Linked DNA regions of Homo sapiens: region 2 is linked to region 1. The links are contacts of gene promoters, found by promoter capture Hi-C in human tissues and cell types (Jung and others, 2019). All regions are on one chromosome and are shown on one strand. Each heading gives the region's core, a stretch centred on a gene start or on the middle of the fragment in contact. The rest is flanking DNA. Distances are from core to core; before and after follow the strand shown. Region 1 holds the start of PLS1 (plastin 1). Region 2 overlaps PLS1 (plastin 1).

Region 1 (3,994 bases), core at 385-2,884:
ATAATTTACACACATTTTTCATGTTTAAAGTGTACAACTTAGCGATGACAGTTGTATACACCTGTGAACTTGTCACTACCATCAAAACAGAGAAAATTTCCATCGTCCCCCTCCAAAAATATTTTTTCTGCTCATTTGCAGTTTATCCTTCCCTCCACTCCTGGCTCCAGGCAATTACTAATCTGGGTTTTGTCATTATAGGTTAGTTTGTACTTCATATAAGTGGGATTATACAATATGTTTTGTCTCTAGCTTCTTCAACTCAGCATACCGATTTTGAGAGTTATCCATATTGAGTCCTGTGTGAGAGTATTTCTTCTTTTTTATTGTTGAGTAGTATTGCATTGTATAAATATACCACAATTTGTTTTTTCATTTACATGTTGTTGGACAGTTGGGTTCCTTCTGGTTTGGGGCTTTTGTGAAAAACAGCTGCTATGAGCATTCCTGTTCAAGTTTTTGTGTAAGCATATGTTTTAATTTCTCTTGGATAACATCTAGGAATGAAATGGCTGGGTCATATGTTAGATGTATGTTTACCTTTTAAGGAAATATTTTGCTTTATTTTGTGAGAACTTACTTAACTCCCCTTGCATATCTAGATAAATAAGTATCAGATAAGGATACTAAATTTACCAGATTCTCTAGGTGGCAGGTGGGAAAAATCAGATAAGAATACTAAATTCACCTGATTCTCTAGGTGGCAGGTGGGAAAAATTCCTTATCTTCCCTCTCCATGGCCCACCTACTTTCATAGTTCATTGCTCGTCCAATTTGTTTGAGTTCTTAAAATAATTTCAACTTCCCCCCTTTATTTTTTCTATTGTTACCATCTCAGGGTTGGTTGGGTGCCTATTCTGTATTGGATATTGTGTTAGGCGCAGAAGGGGCACGTGGGACTTTGAGTTAAAGGGGCAGCAAAACCTTGTTCTGTTCTCTGGACTGAGTTGGACAGACCACAACTACGGATTATGCTTCAGGCAAAGTATGTGAGAACTCTTGAGGCAGCATTCCATTTACCTGACTCACATGCGAGAGAAAATATCCCACTTTTGTTTGAGTGTGGGCTTTAGTTATATATTTATTTTAATCAGGTGTGGCTGTTAAAGGAAAAGGAAGCAATCCGTGAAACAAACGGAAAAAAAAAGAGTAGGGGAGAGAAACAAGTCTTCCTTTAATAACGTATACCTTTCCTTTTGACCAGCAGGTCCCAAAGTGTGGTACCCAGACTAGTAGCACCAGTTTTCGCTGAGAACATGTTAGAAATGGGAACTGTCGCGCTACGCTCCAGACCTAACTGAATCGGAAACTCAGTTTCCGGGTTTGGGATCTGTGATTTAAAAAGCTCTCCAGGTGATTCTGATCCACGCTCAAGTTTGAGAACTGCTGTGCTAAACTCATTCCCAGGGTGTAGGTGGTCATCTTTAGACTTGGGTAACTGTGGGCGGTAGAGATAACGTTGCCGCAGCGCCCGTCCACCTCTCCCCATCCACGCTCCCAGCGCCTGCAACTCCTCTTTCACCCTTAGCCTAAACCCAGGTTCTGGGCTTCCCTTTCCCTCCCCTGGGAGCCGCAGGCAAAACGCGGCAAGTGGATTCAGAGTTTGCGGGCCCGGGTGCCGGCCGAGCATGCGCAGTGGCGCGAGCGCAGCGGCTACGCGGGCGCGGAGAGGTAGCCGCAGAGTGGACCTGCAGGTACTTGGATCTCCAGTGGGAGCTGCCCTCTCGAAGGCAGGACAGCGGTGGCGGCAGGTACGCGGGGGTGGGGATAGGGCCCAAAAGGAAGGCTGGACAGACAGATGGAAAGCGAAGCGTTACTCCTTTGGGGGCGCGCGGCGGCTCGGGGGCAGTATCTCCGGGTCCCCTCGCTCGCGTCTCGTCTCCTGGCTGTGCAGTGTGGCGCCCGCCGTCCTCTGGGCACGCTTCTGCCCAGTCCCGGCAGGCAGTGCCCGCAGGTGTTAAATCGCGTATTTACACTGCTTAAACAATAAGCCTGTTAACTGAATTGTGATTCTATGCAATGAAATAAGGTATTTCATTAAGTTTTCTTCTTTCAACTTTGGGTGGCTGCCGGTGAGGCTTTCTGAACCAGCCTGTTTTGTTTTAATTCTGGGACTGGTTTATTTGCCTTTGGCCTTTTGGTGCATAGGATCAATAGGGCTGTAGTGAAATCCCATCCGTGCTGTTTTTGGTACCTTTCCTGGAGCATAGGGACCTCTGGATGCGGCATAAAAATGTCAGTTTTCAGCGAATTTCACTGCCAAAAAACTTTCCGTGTTTCAGCTGCATTTTCAAGTGGAGACTTAAAAAAATTTAAGATTTCTCCCTAACTTTTCAATTATTACTGTATTTCGGTCTTCATTTGGTACTATTAAAAGGAAGCGGTCGTTTAGATGAGTAACAGAATTCTCACTTTTCCTCCTTTACTTACTTACTATGTCACATTTTATGGCTTATACCGTGATATCTTTCCCTCCAGCCACGGTGTTGGATACACTTGTATGAGGCTTCAGCTGTGCTGCATAAATTTCTTGAAGAACCTGTGAGCCAGAAGCAAAATTTCAGGACAGGGGGCACACACTGAACTTGAAGCAAGTACTTTTACACCCCCCACCACCTTTGTAATCAGCTTTCCTTTAAGTTGAATTATGTAATGAAATTCTATAGTAAAGTGTTAATGTGTAATGTGGAGGCATATATATATATAGAGAGAGAGGTAGTAAGTTTAGGAAGAGGAAATTTTAAGTTCAGGAAGAGAAACCTATATGGAAAGGGAATACAGGTATCCTGCCCCCCTTCATTCCTCCCATGATAAATGTTTTAATGGCAGAAATAATATACAGCTGGTCTAGTTTTGGCTGTAGAGACCTTTGAGGTCAGCCAGTTCAGCTGCTTCAGTTTACAAATGAGAAAACTGAGACCAGCGAGGTTAGATGACTTGCTGTGGCCACCCAAGCCCCTCATTGGCAAAGCTAGGCCTGGGATCCAGGTTTTCTCATTTTCTGGGGTCTTTTTACCACTCCCTGCAGATACTCTTCTTTACCTCCATTATTAAACTTCCTTTTTCTCTTCTACTTATACCATGAAGTCTGGCTTAAGCAGAAAATTAGTTGTTTCTCTTACTAAGCTTCCTAGTACCTCATAAATTCCTTTCAAAAAGTGCCCTTTCACTGAAGCCCCACCTAACAATTTGCTGGTCCTGAAAACGCCCTCCTTCCTTCCCTCAGTCACCTGGGCCCTTTGCCCAAAATGCCTGTTTGCCTCCCTCTTTCCGTATTGAAGTCCTGCTCATGCTGCAAGGTGTAGCTCAGGTGTGACCTCTTTTTGGAAGCCTTCCTTGATTGCCTTAGCATGAAGTAGCTCTCCCTCTTCTGAACCCTATAGCACTTACTACTGTTGTTTGTGCTGTTAGTATCCCCATTGTATATAGTATCCTGAGTATTTTAGCACCTCCCAACTTCCCGACCAGGAAGTTGGCAGGTTGTGTAAGCTCTTGGAGGTTAAAGCCTATGACTTAAACATCCCACCCAGCACTAAGCACAAAGTATATTCTTAGCCCCTGTTTGTGGGAGGGAGTGGGGGAAGGAAGTGCAGTATGTATAGTTTTGTAAAGAGATTTCATGTGTGTTCTATAATATGGGGAAGGCCATGTTAGAGCTGTATCAAGACAGCAGCCAAGTCCATTTCTGATTCCTCATATTTTGATAACAGATCACAGATTAGTTAGGGGGATTACAGGAGACAGGCGTAAAAACACGGGTCAGTTGGTCCAGGCCCTGGATTAAGCCTGTGACTCAAAGTGGAGAAAAGAGGGCACAGAATTAAGAAATGTAAAGGAAGAAGCATGTGGTGAAAGACTAAATGCAGAGAAGGAAAGACATGTTGAAAATGAATTTCAGGGTTGGGGTGTTAGTAATGGGTTTATAATGTTCTTTTTATCTTAAAAGTACCTCCAATTGGCTGGGTGTGGTGGCTCACGCCTGTAATCCCAGCAC
Region 2 (4,098 bases), core at 209-2,708, 100 kb after region 1:
ATAAAATTAGGTAATACCCAACATTTCCTCCTCCTTTATCTGCTTTTCCTTCCTGCTTCAGTGACCTTGCAGATGCTTTAGTGATCTTTCAGCTCTATGAGATGATCCGAGTGCCAGTCAACTGGAGCCATGTCAACAAACCTCCTTATCCTGCCCTTGGAGGGAACATGAAGAAGGTGAATGAAATAATGGCCATGGATATATTGTTATTGTTCTGATATGAAACAAAGAATTTAGAGTTTCATGAAGTTATACGTGCTCTGTCCCCACAATTCTGATTCAGACCAAAATGTGTTAAGCTTAATAGCCTTTTTACAAGTTTGCTTTAATAAATTTGAAGATGAAGGCAATCCCTCTAGTCAGACACTTTATATAACTATTTTCATCTTTATCAAGTCATAGTACTTAATGTTCTTTGAGATGTCCTGTAAATGTATTCTTTTTTTACAATTGGTATAACGTTCTGAATGTTTATTGGTTATCCACTCATTTATTCAACAGATATTTATCAATTACCTAATACCTATACAGTGTTATGCAGGATGTAAAAAAAAAAAAAAAGTATAAAGCATGGAGTTGGTCCTCAGGAAAGCCTAAATAAATTAGGGAAATATGTGTGCAAACAACTACAATATGGTACATGGTAAACAAAAGTGAATATTATGAGTTCTAGGGAAGAAAGTTGAAGAGCTACTGAAATAGTAATAGCAAAATGGGAAAGACACATGAATGAACAATTCATAGAAAAATAATGATGAATAATAGAAATATGAAAAACTTTTCACCCAGAATAAAGAAATGCAATTTAAAACAAGAAACTATTGAACTGCATCCAATGTAAGAGGAAGTATTCATTTGTATAATCCTTCTAAAACCAGTTTGTCAATACATATTAATCTTCCAAAAAATCTTTTGACCTAATTTCACCTTTTTCCACCTATCCTGATGAAAAAATCAGAAAGACACAAAGTTGGGTGGCAAAATGCTAATCATAGCAATGTTTATACAGCACACAAGAAAACAACCTAGTTGTTCAGTAAAGGGTTAATAAAATTGATACACCCATAAGATGAAGTAAAATGTGCCATTAAAAATAGTGTTTGACAGGAACAGAAAACCAAACACTGCATGTTCTCACTCATAAGTGGGAGTTGAACAATGAGGACACATGGACACAGGGAGGGGAACATCACATACCTGGACCTGTCAGGGGTTGGGGGGCAAGGGGAGGGAGAGTATTAGGACAAATACCTAATGCATGCAGGGCTTAAAACCTAGATGATGGGGGCCAGGTGCAGTGGCTCACACCTGTAATCCCAGCATTTTGGGAGGCTAAGGCAGGTGGATCATGAGGTCAGGAATTCGAGGCCAGGCTGGCCAACATAGTGAAAGCCCATCTCTACTAAAAATACAAAAAATTAGCCAGGCGTAGTGGTGGGTGCCTGTAATCCCAGCTACTCGGGAGGCTGAGGCAGGAGAATGGCTTGAACCCGGGAGGCAGAGTTTGCAGTGAGCCGAGATGTGCCATTGCACTCCAGCCTGGGTGAGAAAGCAAAACTCTGTCTCAAAAAACAAAACAAAACAAAACAAAAACCTAGATGATGGGTTGATGGGTGCAGAAAACCACCATGACACATGTATACCTATGTTAACTATCCTGCATGTTCTGCACATGTATACCAGAACTTAAAGTATAATCAAACAAACAAAAAATAGTGTTTTAGTAATAGTGGTATGGAAATGAGCAGGACACAAAATTATATATATACATAATATGAATCTAATTTGTTCAAAATACATAACACATACAGAGATGTATTCAAAAGGGACTTTTAGTTTTCCACATCTATAGAATGAAAATGTATTTATAGACACTAATTTTAAAGAAAAAAATTTTAAAAGACTTTTAAAGGGAAATACATCATAATATTAAAGTAGTTAAATGGGTGGTATAATTATAAAGAGTTACTCGTATGTTTCAGCATTTCTAGTCATTGGACTGCCTGCATTTTTAATTTCATTTGATTTGCATATAATTCTTTTCATGGGAGTAGAATTCAGAAAATTTATTGACTAATTTCATGTAAGTTTTTTCTCCAAAATTTTGAATGCAAAATGTAACAGGAAAACAGAAATTAACCATTCATTATACCTGGAATTTTAATGTGAACTACAAATAAATACATATGTCACAAATGAATCATATGCAGAATACTTTTTCAACAAATACAGAATGAAACATAAAGCCTGAAATAAATTCAAGATGTTTAAAAAATGAAGAAGCAGTACTTTCATGACACAGTATCACAGGGAATTATTTTATGGAATTTGGGCAATAATCAATACATGTCACTTTCCTTCGCTTACAAAGTTCTTAAAGCTGCACCATTAAAATAGCCTTTCTTCTTCATTATTATTATTATTATTTTATTTATTTATTTATTTATTTGAGATGGAGTCTCGCTCTGTTGCCCAGGCTGGAGTGCAGTGGCATGATCTCGGCTAACTGCAAGCTCTGCCTCCCAGGTTCATGCCATTCTCCTGCCTCAGCCTCCTAAGTAGCTGGGACTACAGGCGCCCGCCACCACGCTCGGCTAATTTTTTTGTATTTTTAGTACAGACGGGGTTTCACCGTGTTAGCCAGGATGGTCTTGTCTCCTGACCTCGTGATCCACCCGCCTTGGCCTCCGAAAGTGCTGGGATTACAGGCGTGAGCCACTGTGCCCGGCCTTCTTTACTTTTAAGTATTTCTTTTCACTTGAACCCTTGTGTCCCATTATGTAACTCTTCTCATTGTCTAAATGATCTAAGCTTCATTTTTGTCCAAAGCATTTAAAGTACTTGGTAATTGATATGGTTTGGCTGTGTCCCCACCCAAATCTCATCTTGAATTGTACTCCCATATTCCCATGTGTTGTGGGAGGGACCCAGTGGGAGATAATTTGAATCATGGGGGCAGTTCCCCCATACTGTTCTCATTGTAGTGAATAAGACTTAAGAGATCTGATGGTTTTATCAGGGGTTTCCGCTTTTGCATCTTCCTCATTTTCTCTTGCTGCCACCATGTAAATAGTGCCTTTTGCTTCCTGCCATGATTCTATGGCCTTCCCAGCCATGTGGAACTATAAGTCCAATTAAACCTCTTTTTCTTCCCAGTCTTGGATATGTCTTTATCAGCAGTGTGAAAACAGACTAATACAGTAATCATTTCTTCCATTAACTCTGTGAGACTGCACTCCAAGTTTTTCTTGCTTTCTTTGTGCTCATTCTTACCTTGCATAGGTTCTTCATCTTTTAGCCTGAGAACTCAGTATTTCCAAGGCCTGGTTCTTGGGCCAAAGGTCTTAACTTTTATATTTACACCCTCAGGGAGCAGATCTGTTTTTAGTGTTTTAATTGCAGGTTGAGTATCCCTTATCCAAAATGCTTGGGACCAGACATATTTCAGATATTGGAATATTTGCAGTATACTGGTTGAGCATCCTTAAGCTGAAAATCTGAAATGCTCCAGTTAGCTTTTCTTTTGAGTATTGTGTTGGTGCTCAAAAAGTTTTAGAGTTTGGAGTATTTTGGATTTTTGGATTTTCAGATTAGGGATGCTCAACCTGTACTACCATACACATGGATTACCTCTAGGAACCTAATTTCTCATTCTTTCTCTAGTTTGGTACCTCTCTAGATCTCTTAGAAGTGTTCTGCCAAATTTGGAACCAAATATTGCCCATAAAAGAATATATGCTTTCCCTTATGCTAGCACCTATTTCCAGTTTCTCTTTCAATGCTGGTCCTATCAATATATTCTTAGGCCTCTATACTAGCAACCCTGAACTCCTTTCTCACCATCATCTCCCTTAGGAACTTTGGTAGAACTGTAAAGCAGATGGCTCTTCATTGAAACACATTTTACACATGTGATTACTGCAGTTTGCTATAAAATTCTCCCACTGAACTGGGTGTCCATGGTAAATATGCTGGCTTTTTACTCTCCTGTACACAGTGTTAAATAATTCAAGTGCTAATGTTATTTTCCATAAATTAGGAATCTATTCTATTTTTTAAAGTCTACATTCTTACAGCATATATTTCTTTTAAGCGGGC

The links. Contacts are between HindIII fragments. The study calls those that stand out against the background at their distance.
Region 2: a fragment that was not itself captured here is called in contact with the fragment with the promoter of PLS1 in region 1 in 4 of the 25 tissues and cell types used here (bladder, hippocampus, liver and 1 more).

The regions. Positions count from the first base shown.
Region 1 is chr3:142,594,759-142,598,752 of GRCh38, forward strand. It overlaps PLS1 (plastin 1), which reads left to right and starts at 1,635. Exons shown (of 16, transcript NM_001145319.2): 1 at 1,635-1,751. It overlaps PLS1-AS1 (PLS1 antisense RNA 1), which reads right to left. Exons shown (of 4, transcript XR_001740938.2): 4 at 1,151-2,539. RefSeq lists an enhancer at 1,691-1,930. The HindIII fragment of the contact is 14,749 bases long and covers 1-3,994 here.
Region 2 is chr3:142,697,892-142,701,989 of GRCh38, forward strand. It overlaps PLS1 (plastin 1), which reads left to right. Exons shown (of 16, transcript NM_001145319.2): 12 at 62-176. Among named protein-coding and RNA genes, the nearest start is that of TRPC1, 24 kb to the right of the region's middle. The HindIII fragment of the contact is 4,919 bases long and covers 1-3,918 here.